2 separate regions of the Homo sapiens genome follow, and region 2 is linked to region 1. The links are contacts of gene promoters, found by promoter capture Hi-C in blood cells and fetal thymus (Javierre and others, 2016). All regions are on one chromosome and are shown on one strand. Each heading gives the region's core, a stretch centred on a gene start or on the middle of the fragment in contact. The rest is flanking DNA. Distances are from core to core; before and after follow the strand shown. Region 1 overlaps LRRC4B (leucine rich repeat containing 4B). Region 2 holds the start of KLK6 (kallikrein related peptidase 6).

Region 1 (7,537 bases), core at 2,507-5,006:
ACCTCCGCCTCCCAGGTTCAAGCGATTCTCCTGCCTCAGCCTCCCGAGTAGCTGGGATTACAGGCACACCCCACTGTGAGCGGCTAATTTTTCTTTTCTTTTCTTTTCTTTTTTTTTTTGAGACAGAGCCTCTCATTTTCGCCCAGGCTGGAGTGCAGTAGCGCCATCTCGGCTCACTGCAAGCTCCGCCTCCCGGGTTCACGCCATTCTCCTGCTTCAGCCTCCCGAGTAGCTGGGACTACAGGCACCCACCAGCACGCCCGGCTACTTTTTTTGTATTTTTAGTAGAGATAGGGTTTCACCATGTTAGCCAGGATGGTCTCGATCTCCTGACCTCATGATCCGCCTGCTTTGGCCTCCCAAAGTGCTGGGATTACAGGCGTGAGCCACCACGCCCGGCCGGTGCACTTTATTTCTATTATTATTATTACATCGTAATGTATAATAAAATAATTATACTACTCACTATAATGTAGAATCAGTGGGAGCCCTGAGCTTGTTTTCCTGCAACTAGATGGTCCCATCTGGGGGTGATGGGAGACAGTGATGGATCATCAGGCATTAGATTCTCATAAGGAGCAAGTAAACGAAATCCCTCGCCTGCACAGTTCACAATAGGGTTCACGTTCCTATGAGAATCTAATGCTGGCCGAGCGTGGTGCCTCACGCCTGTAACCCCAGTGCTTTGGGAGGCTGAGGTGGGTGGATCACCTGAGGTCACGAGTTCGAGACCAGCCTGGCCAACACGGCAAAACCTGTCTCTACTAAAAATACAAAAATAACCCAGGCATGGTGGCAGGTGTCTGTAATCCCAGATACTCAGGAGGCAGGAGAATCACTTGAACCCGAGAGGCGGAGGTTGTAGTGTGCTGAGATCGTGCCACTGCACTCCAGCCTAGGCAACAGAGCAAGACTCTGTCTCAAAAAAAAATTTTTTTGTAATTTAAATAAAAGAGAATGTAATGCCGCCAGTGATCTGATAGGAGGCAGAGCTCAGACAGTAATGCTCGCTCGCCTGCTGCTCACCTCCTTCTGTGCAGCCTGGTTCCTAACAGGCCACCCACCAGTACCGGTCTGTGGCCTAGGGGTTGCGGACCCCTGGGTTCAATGAATCACTGTGCCCATTACAATGGAATATTATGCAGCTATTTAAAACAGAGTTTCAAATAATAGTGGATGACATGGGGAAATGCTCAAAACGTAATACTGAGCTTTCAAAGAATGTGAATAGGATCTCCAATTCACTTTTAAAACTTAAGCAATATATTTTAAAAGACCGAGAAACACCCAGGAAGGTCAACAGGGTCTTTTCTCTTTGCATTAGTATTACAGGGATATTTAATTTCTTCTTTATGTTTTCTTTATTCTCTAGATTTTCTTCAGTGAGAGCATTTAATAACTTTTTTTTTTTTTTTTGAGATGGAGTCTCGCACTGTCCCCCAGGCTGGAGTGCAGTGGCGCGATCTCGGTTCACTGCAACTTCCACCTCTCGGGTTCAAGCAATTCTCCTGCCTCAGCCTCCCGAGTAGCTGGGACTACAGGCACCTGCCACCACGCCCTGCTGATTTTTGTATTTTTGGTAGAGACGGGGTTTCACCATGCTGGCCAGGCTGGTCTCGAACTCCTGACCTTGTGATCCACCTGCCTCGGCCTCCCAAAGTGCTGGGATTACATGTGTGAGCCACCACACCCAGCCAATAACTTTTATAATCAGAACAAATTAAGCTTTAAAAATACTAAGTATAAAATCCTATGCAAGCTGGAAAGAAAAAAAAAAGGCTATACTGGAATTTGCTCACCTTTTCCTAAATGAGGAAAAAGAAACAAAAATTTCAAAGCATTTATCTGGAGCAGGGGGTCAGGGAGCGCTCATCTAACCCCATTTATTCCTGTGAGGGCAGGATGACTTCTCCCATCTTATGGACGTGGAAATGGAGGCACAGGCTCTGAGTGACTTATCCAAGGTCGCCCAGCAAGCTGTAGCCCCCATGGGCTTGCCATGTGCCTCAGAAGGTATATATGTCTGTCCCACCCTGAGAGTCAGTGTGGAGAAGCCAGGCCCAGACAGCCAAAGTGGGGCAGCTACAGGATGGTAATTCTGTTGCAAAAACAAAAAACAAAACCTGGCCGGGCACGGTGGCTCACGCCTGTAATCCCAGCACTTTGGGAAGCCAAGGCAGGTGGATCACAAGGTCAGGAGTTCGAGACCATCCTGGCCAACATGGTGAAACCCTGTCTCTACTAAAAATACAAAAATTAGCCGGGTGTGGTGGCGGGCACCTGGCTACTTGGGAGGCTGAGGCAGGAGAATCGCTTGAACCCAGGATGCAGAGGTGGTAGTGAGCCGAGATCGTGCCACTGCACTCCAGCCTGGCGACAAAGCAAGAATCCGTCTTGAAAAAAAAAAGGCGGCGTGCGGTGGCTCGCACCTGTAATCCCAGCACGGTGGCTCACACCTGTAATCCCAGCACTTTGGGAGGCCAAGGCAGGTGGATCGCTTGAGCTCAGGAGTTTGAAACCAGCCTGGGCAACATAGCAAGACCCCATCTCTACTAAAAATACAAAAATTAGCCAGGTGTGGTGGCACGCACCTGTAGTCCCAGATCCCTGGGAGGCTGAGGTGGGAAGATTGCATGAGGCCAGGAGGCAGAGGCTGCAGTGAGCTGTGATTTTGCCACTGGACTCCAGCCTAGGTGGCAGAGCAAGACTCTGTCTCAAAAAAAAAAAAAAAAAAAAAAAAAAACAAGACAAAACCCAAACTAACCAAATAAAAACCCCGGCCATAGTGCATTATCAAGGCAAATACCAAGAATAGCTTTTAAATTACCCACTAGTTCGCATTTTCCAGGCGGCTGATCCCTCCAGGGGCATGAAACATGGAGCTTTTGATTGGACAGACTTTTCCCAGTTAGAGCCCTTTAAGGAAGAAAACGGTGGGAGGGCCGGGCGCGGTGGCTCGCGCCTGTAATCCCACCACTTCGGGAGGCCGAGGCGGTTGGATCACCTGAGGTCAGGAATTGGAAACTAGCCTGGCCAACATGGCGAAACCCCGTCTCTACCAAAAATACAAAAATTATCTGGGAGTGGTAGTGCGTGCCTGTAGTACTAGCTACTCAGGAGGCTGAGGCAGGAGAATCACTTGAACCCGGAGGCAGAGGTAGGTTGCAGTGAGCTGAGATTGTGCCACTGCACTCCAGCCTGGGCAACAGAGAGAGACTCCATCTCAAAAAAGGCAAAAAAGAAAGAAAGAAAGAAAATGGCGGAAGGGAGGATCTGTAGAGGGGAATCTAGGAGCTGACCTCTCTTGAGGTCAACTGGGACATTCCCCAGCCGCGGGCCTGCGACCAGCAGCCAGGAGGTCCTCTGGATAGGAGGGAGCAGTGCGCCCTCTGCCGTCCGTTCCCGGGCTGCTGAGACTTCGTGTCTAACTGCGGCCTCCCTGGCTCTCATTCCAGCTGAGTTATCCTCTTCATTCCCTCAGCAGCGCCATCTCGGGGCCCACATAATCCTTGTCACCACTCCGAGCCTCAGTTTCTACCCTTTTCAAATAGGATTTCCCATACTTTGTCAGTTTCTTCTTAACTTTTTCTCATGATGACTCACAGCACACTTACAGAAAAGAACAGTCGGCCGGGCGCGGTGGCTCACACCTGTTAAAGTTAAATTGACAAAGGCGTAGAATTGCTTGGCGTCCTGCAAAGCCACATGGCCCCTGAGCCTCGGGACAGGCTGCTGGGTGGGAGTATCAGTCCCACATCTCTGTTGAGCAGCCTGCGAGTCCTGAGAGGCACAAGACCCGCGTTCTCCCCTCCACGAATGACGCTAAGGCGTTGAGTCACCTCTCTGAGCCTGCCTTCTCGTCTAGAAAATAGACCAATTATTTCTACAGCTCAGCGAGGGTGGGCGGGAGAATGTCAGTCGGGCCCCCAGCATTGCTCCAAGCCCTTTACAGGGTCAGTGAATTTCAGCCTCACGACAGCCCCCTGAGTAGGTCCTATTCTTCTCATGTTACAGATGAGGAAACTGAGGCATAGGAGAGTTAAGACACTTGCAAACGGTCCTGGTCCCATGGTTAGTAACGGAGCTGGGACTCGGCCCAGGCAGGCTGGCTGCAGAACTTGGTTTTTTCAACGCGATTCGTAATGCTTCCTAATTCGTAGCTATCCCTGGCGCTGCACCCTGGTGACTCAGTCTCAGAACTGCCACTGAGTCCCAGTCTACATCCCCACAGCCCAGCCTGGCTCTGGCCTTGTCCTTGCTCATCTGGAAGCCCCAGCTTCTTCCTAGCCTCCCAGATGTAGCCTGTACCCACACACCCCTGCCACCACACCCAGCTGGAGTCGCCACACCAACTCCTCCTAGGGGACACCTTTCTGCAAGCCACCCTGTCCCCATCTCAGATCAGGATGAGTATGCCTGGCGCTCCCAGCTACACCAAGCTCAGGGGCACCCTCTACTGGGCACCAGAAGCTACCCCAGCCCCTTCCTTCCCACCCTTCCAGAAACTTGCCCTGCCTTTAAATAGTCACAGACAGATGTGCTTGCCCTGTGCCAGGCGCTCTTCTCCATGGCTTACAGATATCGAGACAGTTTAATCCTCACAAGGATGCCGTGGTCTCGTCACCACCCCGTGGCGAGTCTAGGAGCTGAGCTGAGACCCGTGCATCTTTCTCCCTGCATGGGCTGTCCCTCCTGTGTCTGAACAGCCCCGGCTAATCCATCTGCAGCATTCAGTGCAGCCCTGATTTGTTTATTGAGCACCTAGTGTGTGCCAGGCACCACCCGAGGCCCAGAGAGCAGGACATACAGAGATCCCTGCCCTCTCGACACTGCGTGCAGAAAGAGGTCGTTCAGAAAGTCGGCAAGTCTCATCCGGGCACAGTGGCTCACGCCTGTAATCCTAGCACTTCGGGAGGCTGAGGCGGGTGCTCACTTGAGGTCAGGAGCTTGAGACCAGCCTGACCAACGTAGTGAAACCCCATCTCTACTAAAAATACAAAAATTAGCCAGGTGTGGTGATGTGTTACTGTAATCCCAGATACTCGGGAGGGTGAGGCAGGAGAATCGCTTGAACCTGGGAGGCGAAGGTTGCAGTGAGCTGAGATCATGCTATTGCACTCCAGCCTGGGCGACAGAGCGAGACTCCATCATAAAAAAAAAAAAAAGGAAGGTAAACAAGTCCAGTAGCAGCGTGCACGAGCTGGCGGGGGGCTGCTGAGCTGAACATAGTGAGGGGAGGCCAGGGAAGGCTGCCCAGGAAGCGGTGTAGGCCCATGGCCTGTGCCTCAGCTTAACCCCACTCTCCCACCCCACCCGCAGGTGCCTTAGGCAAAGTCCTGCTGCCTTGCTTGGTCTTGCACATGCCTCTGATATAGATCTCATCCCCTTGTTGTTTACACCCAGGTTCAGATGCCTCTCTGGGCTCCTGGTGGTGGGGAAGGGTGGGAGGCGGGTAGCCATCCAGCCAGACTTTCCACCCAGGCCAGGGCCTGGTCCCAGAAGGGCTCAGGAGGCCACTCCCAGGAGGATGAATGGGAGGAGGGAGACAGGGACGTCTAGGCCTGAGCCGGGTCAGTGTGAGAATCAGGGGCCCACAACGGCCCCTGCAGTGCTGCCAGTCATGGCATCAGGGAAGTCCCTGTTGGAGAGGGAGGCACAAGTTCCTTGTCTCAGGGACAAGCAAGAAATATGAGAAGTCATCATAAAGACAGTTGATGTGACAAATAACGGTTTTTAAAATCTGAATGTAAAAAAATTAACACACACACACAAACAACAGTAAGCTTGCTAAACTTTTGTGATTGACTCATTATATTCAAAACATAAAAACAGGCCGAGTGCAGTGGTTCACGTCTGTAATCCCAGCACTCTGGGAGGCAGAGGCAGGCAGATCACCTGAGGTCAGGAGTTGGAGACCAGCCCGGCCAACTTGGTGAAACCTTGTCTCTACTAAAATACAAAAATTAGCCTGGTGTGGTTGTTTGCACCTGCAATCCCAGCTACTCAGGAGGCTAAGGTGGGAGAATCACTTGAACCCAGGAGGCGGAGGCTGCAGTGAGCTGAAATCATGCCACTGCACTCCAGCCTGAGCAATAGAGCAAGATCCTGTCTTAAAAATAAATAAATAAATAAACAGGCCGGGCGTGGTGGGTCACGCCTGTAATCCCAGCACTTTGGGAGGCCAAGGCGGGCAGATCATGAGGTCAGGAGATCGAGACCATCCTGGCTAACACAGTGAAACCCTGTCTCTACTAAAAATACAAACAATTAGCTGGGTGTGGTGGCAGGCGCCTGTAATCCCAGCTACTCGGGAGGCTGAGGCAGGAGAATCACTTGAACCCGGGAGGCAGAGGTTGCAGTGAGCTGAGATCGCTGCACTCCAGCCTGGTGACAGAGCAAGACTCTGTCTCAAATAAATAAATAAATATAAATAAATACAATTTATAATGTTAAGATGAACAGTTCACTTAATTGTTTTCTTACCACAGTTACATTTTTAATAAGGAATTTCTTCACAATTTATTTTCTTAAAAACCCCAACAGATCTCAGTGGGATTTTTTTCAGCTTTAGTAATATTTACCTACCACAACCAAAGTGGAAAGTCCCCCTACACAGGCCAAGTTGCAGGATAAAAGGAAAGTCCCCATCGGGGTTAGAAGGCAGTCATTGATGGGGGCCACGTCCCTTTGCCGGATTCACATCTGCATCATTGAGATCTGTCCCAGAGCCCAGCATAGGTGGAGGTGGGCTCAGCAGATGGGGGCTGAAGATCCAGGGAACTTGGAAGTGTGGGCAGCTATGTGGCTGTCAGAGGTGGCCCCAGGCCTAGGTCCTCTACTGTAGGACAAAATGTCAACATCTTCGTCAGGCTAAAGATGTTAGGGTGAGGGGGCAGGAGGATTTACCTGCGTCAAGAACCAATCCCCACCTTGCCCATCCTACTCTGTGTCAGGGCCATGAGGGTGATGACACTCACAACTTCAGAGGTGATCTGGTCTAGGGTGTTTCAAATCAGGCCTTGGAGGGGCCCCAGGCCTGCCTCCCCCTGCAACCAGGGCAGCCTCCACGATCTGTGTACACCTTTGCTGGTTAAATGATTGTTGGCATAATTGTTTTGTTTAGTGTCTCTCTTCTTCTCTGAGGCCAGGATCTAGGAAGACAGGGCTTTGTCTGTCTTGTCCACAGCTGGATCCCCAGAGCCCAGTATGACACTTGACACATAGCAGCTCTCAAAAAATAACCTGTCAAATGAGCGAAACAATACATGGTAATGTAAGAATGAATGGGCCCCACAGCTCAAAAAGCATTGTGAAGCCCACAGACAGCCCAACTGTTTCAGTTTAGGGTGGGTAGGTGTGGTGGAGACTCCCATGTCTGTGCTCAGGAGAAGGAGACGTTGAGTCTTGGTTCTGCAACTTTGGAGCCTGTGAGACTGGGGACAAGTGACTTTACTTCTCTGAACCTTCATTTTCTCAGCTATGAACCACCAGATATGAAGGGAGCAGGGGTATGTGCTTGATAACCCCCATGTGACAG
Region 2 (6,948 bases), core at 4,445-6,944, 430 kb before region 1:
CTCCCCCCCAGCCCCTCCTCCCTCAGACCCAGGAGTCCAGACTCCCCCCCAGCCCCTCCTCCCTCAGACCCAGGAGTCTAGACTACCCCCAGCCCCTCCTCCCTCAGACCCAGGAGTTCAGACCCCCCCCCCCGCCAGCCCCTCCTCCCTCAGACCCAGGAGTCCAGACCGCCCCCAGCCCCTCCTTCCTCAGACCCAGGAGTCCAGACTCCCCCCAGCCCCTCCTCCCTCAGACCCAGGAGTTCAGACCGCTCCCCGCCGCCAGCCCCTCCTCCCTCAGACCCAGGAATCCAGACTCCCCCCAGCCCCTCCTCCCTCAGGCCCAGGAGTCCAGATCCCCCCCAGCCCCTCCTTCCTCAGACCCAGGAGTCCAGACCCCCCGCCCCAACCCCTCCTCCCTCAGACCCAGGAGTCCAGGCTCCCCCCCAGCCCCTCCTTCCTCAGACCCAAGAGTCCAGACCCCCCGCCCCAACCCCTCCTCCCTCAGACCCAGGAGCCCAGGTCCCCAGCCCCTTCTGTTTCTGGGCCTGTCAAGTTTAAGAATGTCAAACATTTTCGACCAGTCATTCCCCTGAAGTTTTAGCAACATTTTCTCTCTCTTCTGCAAGGCACTCCAACATTCAATCTGGAATTTTAAAAAGTAACAAAACATTGCATTTGCACTAAGTCAGCCTGGAGATCCCTGGCCCTGGCCCTCTGCTCTCCTATACGCAAGCTACAGGTAGATTGGTTTGCAATGACTGAGATGGTACTAATGTTGATTTTTTTTAAGTAATTCATTTTTCTTTGGGTAAGCAGTATAGTGTGGTAGTTAAGGGACTAGCTCTGGATCTTGGCTTCTTGGGTTCAAATCCCAGTTCTAGTCCCTACAAGCTATTTTCCTTTAAGCTCATTACTTCCCCTGTCCCTGTTCCTTCATCCTTGAAATGGGAGAAAAAGCACCTACTTTCTAGGGTTATTACAGAGATTCAATAAGTTAATATACAGAAAGTGCTCAAACATTGTGTGGCACGAGGTAAGCCTTCCTTCAATGGTCATTGGTTTTAGTTTAGTTTAGTTTAGTTTAGTTTTTCTTTTTTTTTGAGACAAAGTCTTGCTCTTGTCACCCAGGCTGGAGTGCAATGGCGCGATCTCAGCTCACTGCAACCTCTGCCTCCCAGGTTCAAGTGATTCTCCTGCCTCAGCCTCCTGAGTAGCTGGTATTACAGGTGCCTGCCACCATGCCCGGCTAATTTTTGTATTTTCAGTAGAGACCAAGTTTCACCACGTTGGCCAGGCTGTCCTCAAACTCCTGACCTCAGGCAATCTGCCCGCCTTGACCTCCCAAAGTGCTGAGATTACAGGCATGAGCCACCGCGCCTGGCCCAGGCATTGGTTTTTATTGTTTATGACTTCTGGCACTTTTTTCTGCTTACAGTCTCATGAAGTTTCCTTATAATTTTTTTTTTCTTTTTTTCACATAGGGTCTTGCTCTATCATCCAGGCTAGAGTTTGGTGGCATGATCATAGCTCACTGCAGCCTCAGTCTCCTGGGCTCAAACAATCCTTTTGCCTCAGCCTTTCGAGTAGCTGGGACCATGCCTGGGCTGATTTTTTTTTTTTTTTTTAGTAGAGACGGGGTCTCACTATGTTGTCCAGGCTGGTCTCTAATTCCTGAGCTCAAGTAATCCTCCCACCTCAGCCCTCCAAAGTGCTGGGATTACAGGTGTGAACCACTGCACCGAGACAGAAGAATTTATTTAGTGAAGAGTTTTGCAGAGCAAGACAATCTGGAGCAAACTATCCAGTAAATAAGCATTCAAAGTATGCAGAGATGGCAAACCATGAAGGTCACCAGAGAAGAGGTAGAGTTAGAAATTTCTTTCTCTTCAAAGTCCCTCCACTCCCCACAGCCTAACACCTCCCTTCTTTCCCCACCCAGCTCTCAACAATTCCTCCCAAGTTCACTCACCTCGTACTGTCATAAGATAGACCCAGCCAGGCCACCAAGGGATGGGCCACATCCACGCCATGTTGGAAGCTGAGTTCCCATTCAGGCTCCACCATTTCCTGGATGTTTGATGATGAGCAATGAACTTCCCGTTCTGAGCCTCAGTTTTCTTATCTGTAAAATGGGAGTGGGTGTGATAAAGTCATTTAGTCATTTGGTCAGTCTTGCCTAAGGCTTCTTCTGGGCAAGGTCCTGTGTGGTTGCTTGGGACACAGGGATGAGTCAGTCCCGTACCTGCCCTCAAGGAGCTCACGGTCCAGTGGAAGAGATGACGAATGTCAATCCAGGTGGCCCCCCGTCCAGGTTGGGTTGAGGGAGACACCTGCTGTGGGAACCTACGTGAGAGAATGAGTAATCCAACTACAGCAGGTGGCAGCTGGGTGGTGTTCAGGGAAGGTTTCCTGGAGGAGGTAATGTCCAAGTAAAGACTTGAAGGACAGGTTATTGCCAGGAAAAGGTGGGGAAAACATGCTAAGAAGAGAGAATAGGCCAGGCACGGTGGCTCACGCCTGTAATCCCAGCACTTTGGGAGACCGAGGCAGGCAGATCACCTGAGGTCAGGAGTTCATGACCAGCCTGGCCAACATGGTGAAACCCCATCTCTACTAAAAATATAGGCATGGTGGTGTGTGCCTGTAATCCCAGCTACTCGGGAGGCTGAGGCTGGAGAATTGCTTGAACCCAGCAGGCGAAGAGAGATCGCGCCACATCACTCCAGCCTGGGCGACAGAGCGAGACTCCATCTCAAGAAGAAGAGGGAATAGCATTCAGTGAAGGGCCAGAGGCCAGAGGGCATGGCATGGGTCAGGGAAGCTTGATGTGTTCTAGAAAGCTGGAGCCACACGGAGACGTAGACATAGCTGTGTCATGCAGTGTGAGGGCCACTCACCACTCAGGACTCCTTTTAAAAAAATTTTTGACAGGGTCTGGCTCTGTCACACTGAAGTGCAGTGGCGTGATTATGGCTTACTGCAACCTGGGCCTCCAGGCTCAAGCAACTATCCCACCTCAGCCTTCTGCATAGCTGGGACCACAGATGTGTGCCACCACACCTAGGTAATTTTTTTCTTTTCTTTTTTTTGTTTTTTTTTTTAGAGATAGGGTCTCACTATATTGTCCAGGCTGGTCTCGAACTCCTAGGCTCAAGTGATCTTCCCACCTCTGCCTCCCAAAGTGCTTGGATTACAGGCATGAGCCACCTTGCCCAGCCATGTCAGGCTGGGGTGCAGTGGTATAGTCACAGCTCACTGCAGGCTCGACCTCCCAGGCTCAGCAATTCTCCCGCCTCAGCCTCCGGAGTAGCTGGGACTACAAGTGTGCACCACCACATCTGGCTAATTTTTTTACTTTTTGCAGAGATGGTTTCTCACTATGTTGCCCAGGCTGGTCATGAACTTCCGGACTCAAGCTATCTACCCACCTTGGCCTCTCAAAGTGCTGGGATTACAGACATGAGCCACCATGCCTGGCCTTAAATTTATTTTTTAATTGACAAGTAAAAATTGTATATATTTCTGGTGTATAACATCATGTTTGATATATGTATGTATATGTTGTGGAATGGCTAAACCAAGCTATTTAACATATGCATTATTTTACACCCTTATTTTTTGTGGTAAGGACACTTAAAAAATCTTCTGACTTAAAAAAAAAAGTATGGTGATTGGAAAATGTAAATGTGCATGCGTGCTTGGCATCACATTTCATTGGCCAGGACTTCCCTGGATGCTAAAGGTCCTCAAATGCCAGGCTGGGGGGCTGGGACTTGGTCCCAAGGGAGATGGGGACCCAGGGCACGTCTGTGAGAGGAGGGGCAAGGTCAGCACAAGGCACAGGAAGGTCTCTCTGGGGCAAGGGATACAGAGAACAGAGGGATCCTGGTCCAGGTGGGAGAGGTGCAGCTCTGAGTTGGGGTTGAGGGTGTGGGTACAGAGAGGAAGGGACCCCCCAGAGAGAGGAGGCAGAGGGATAGGGCCTGGTCACTGGGTTGTGCAACATCAGACTTGCTGTCTGTGAAGATAGCACGTCCTGAGAAGAAGGTGCTGAGGTCAGTGGGGACCAAATGTGAGAGGGAGCACCCGGAGAGTATACTGAATACCGAAGTAGTCTTCATCCCTGGAGTGATGGGGGGTGCACAATGCAAGATGACAATTAGATTCAATGCAAGACAAAGAAAAGGGTTGGCTGGGAACAGTGGCTCATGCCTATGGTCCCAGCTCCTGGGAAGACTGAGGCGGGAGGGTCGCTTGAGCCCAGGAGGGTTGAGGCTGCCACGAGCAAGGATCGTGCCACTGCACTCCAGCCTAGGCGACAGAACAAGACCTTGTCTCAAAAGAAAAAAGAACTTTTTTTTTTAAGTTACCTGTAGTGCCCAGCCCAAGCAGGTGCTGAGCCAGACTTCATTCCTATCATTGTCCTTATTACGCAGTGACTTCCCCCTCCTCATTTCTCTCCACTCTGCCACGCACACACCCTCACCCTCCAGCCCATACCAACCACCCCAACCACTGCCTGTGGTTTCCCATGTGCACCCAGGCCAGGCATTTTCACGGCCTTTCCTCCTGACCTACGCCTGGCTCAGCTTTCTAGGCCCAAGTTCAAAGACACCTCCCTAAATCTTCCCAGATCCCTCTGCTACTGCCCAGCACCACCATCTTATCACAGCCCCACGTCGTTCCCAAGTGCTCTCCGATTTCTGCTTAACTCCATGCCTCTCGCTGTGTGTCCGCATCTCATCAATAAGTCCTCAAGTCCTCTTCCATCCTGCTAGCTTCCTCATCGCTCGGGAATCATCCCCGCTACTTCCTGGGGAAACTGACTCCCTTCTGGGCACACACAGTGCTACCCCCGGGGAAATCTAAGAAGAGACCCAGGAGAAGATAAGCACGGAGAGTCAGAGAATCAAGGGGAAAGAAAGGGAGAGAGGCCGGGCACAGTGGCTCACACCTGTAATCCAGCACTTTGGGAGGCCAAGGTGGGTGGATCACCTGAGGTCAGGAGTTTGAGACCAGCCTGGCCAACATGGTGAAACCTCTTCCCTACTAAAAATACAAAAAACATTTAGCCGGGCGTGGTGGTGGGTGCCTGTAATCCCAGCTACTTGGGAAGCTGAGGCAGGAGAACTGCTTGAACTCAGGAGGCGGAGGTTGCAGTGAACTGAGATCACACCACTGCACTCCAGCCTGAGTGACAGAGCAAGACTCCGTCAAAAAAAAAGAAAGAAAGAAAGAAAAGAAGGAAGGAAAGAAAGAAGGAAGGAAGGAAGGGAGGAAGGGAGAGAGGAAGGGAGAGAGGAAGGGAGAGAGAGAAAAAAAGAGGGAGAGAGACACAAATACAGAGACTGAGATGGGAGAGAGAGAGAGATGGAAGCTCCCTCCCCTCCATGGCCAGGGAGACAGATGGAGCAAGAGACCTCAGGGGTGGGCAGACTTGGAGGAGAAGGACCAGGAGGATGTGGAGTGCCGAAATCTCCAGTCAGGGCCAGGTGGGCAGTCAGAGACTGCAAAGGAGGACTGTCAGACAGGGACAAAAGGAAGCCATTGATGTAACCGCCCTCCCGCCTGCCCGCCGGAAGAGAGGTTGAGGCCGGAGCTGCTGGGAGCATGGCACTGGGGTGCTGGGGGCGGACAAAGCCCGATTGTTCCTGGGCCCTTTCCCCATCGCGCCTGGGCCTGCTCCCCAGCCCGGGGCAGGGGCGGGGGCCAGTGTGGTGACACACGCTGTAGCTGTCTCCCCGGCTGGCTGGCTCGCTCTCTCCTGGGGACACAGAGGTCGGCAGGCAGCACACAGAGGGACCTACGGGCAGGTGTGTGAGTCACCCCAACCGCACTGAACCTGGGCAGGCTGCTTCCCAGTGCCGGAGGGCTCTAGAGCCCGGAGTGAGGGCCTGCAGGTCCCTGGGTGGCACAGAGAGTGCTGGGGGTGCAGGGAGGCCTGGGGCACCATCTGCTTGCCCCAGAGGCCGGAATTTGTCTTCAGACACTTTCTTTCTCCAAAACCCGGAGGTCTAAGGACTGAGCCGACTAGAACTTCCTCTGCCTCAGATTCAGGCCCCAGCCCCTCCTCCCTCAGACCCAGGAGTTTAGGTCCTAGCCCCTCCTCCCTCAGACCCAGGAGTCCAAGTTCCCACCTCCTCCCTCAGACTCAGGAGTCCAGGCCCCCAGCCCCTCCTCCCTCAGACCCAGGAGTCCAAGTTCTCACCTCCTCCCTCAGACCCAGGAGTCCAGGCCCCAAGCCCCTCCTCCCTCAGACGCAAGGGTCCAGGCCCCCAGCCCCTCCTCCCTCAGACTCAGGAGTCCAGGCCCCCAAGCCCCTCCTCCCTCAGACCCAGGAGTCCAGGCCCTCACTGCACTCAGGGACCAGTGCTCCCTTCCCTGGAGGCCTGGTCAGGGGTCACCAAGAGCAGAGCGTGGGGGCGGGAGGAATGTGTGTGGGAGGCCTGGGTAAGGAGGAAAAGGGTGTAGCCAGTCTCCTGGCTCAGGGACCTGAGAGACAGGGGTTAAAAGGACGTTCCAGAAGCATCTGGGGACAGAACCAGCCTCTTCCAGGGAGGCCTGGGAGCTGGGGGTGTGTGTCTGGCAGTCCCTGCAGCCCTGGGCTCTGCGGCCCCTGCGTCCTCCGCTTGGCTCTGCCACTGCATCTGAGTGTCTTCTCTCCTCACGGCTCCCCGCATTTCTAACTCTTTCTGCCTCCTCGTCTCAAAGCTGTTCCTTCCCCCGACTCAAGAATCCCCGGAGCCCGGAGGCCTGCAGCAGGTGAGATCACAGACATCACAGAACCTGCCGGGTGGGCGGGGTGGGTGGCCATTGCGCACAGAGCCAGGCTCCGAGGAAAACTCCCATACAGAGGAAGAACGCTAGGGCCCCCTAGGGTAACCCTCTCCTGTCGACAGGAAGGCAAATCAGTGCCCAAGAAAGTAGAAAGATCTAATCAGAATCTCACCATGGGTTACTGGACCA

The links. Contacts are between HindIII fragments. The CHiCAGO score rates a contact against its expected background, and 5 or more counts as called.
Region 2: a contact is called between the fragment with the promoter of KLK6 here and a fragment that was not itself captured in region 1, in 2 of 17 cell types (M1 macrophages and M0 macrophages). The highest score is 9.1, in M1 macrophages.

Annotation. Positions count from the first base shown.
Region 1 is chr19:50,533,766-50,541,302 of GRCh38, reverse strand. The region is part of intron 2 of LRRC4B (leucine rich repeat containing 4B); the gene reads left to right. LOC124904747 (a long non-coding RNA gene) reads right to left here. Exons shown (of 3, transcript XR_007067300.1): 3 at 6,472-7,242. Among named protein-coding and RNA genes, the nearest start is that of ASPDH, 24 kb to the right of the region's middle. RefSeq lists an enhancer at 6,562-6,651. The HindIII fragment of the contact is 4,058 bases long and covers 1,728-5,785 here.
Region 2 is chr19:50,968,337-50,975,284 of GRCh38, reverse strand. It overlaps KLK6 (kallikrein related peptidase 6), which reads left to right and starts at 5,694. Exons shown (of 7, transcript NM_002774.4): 1 at 5,694-5,795; 2 at 6,694-6,744. It overlaps LOC105372442 (a long non-coding RNA gene), which reads right to left. Exons shown (of 7, transcript XR_007067308.1): 4 at 6,932-6,948; 5 at 2,225-2,325; 6 at 1,952-2,104; 7 at 559-625. The HindIII fragment of the contact is 4,765 bases long and covers 2,806-6,948 here.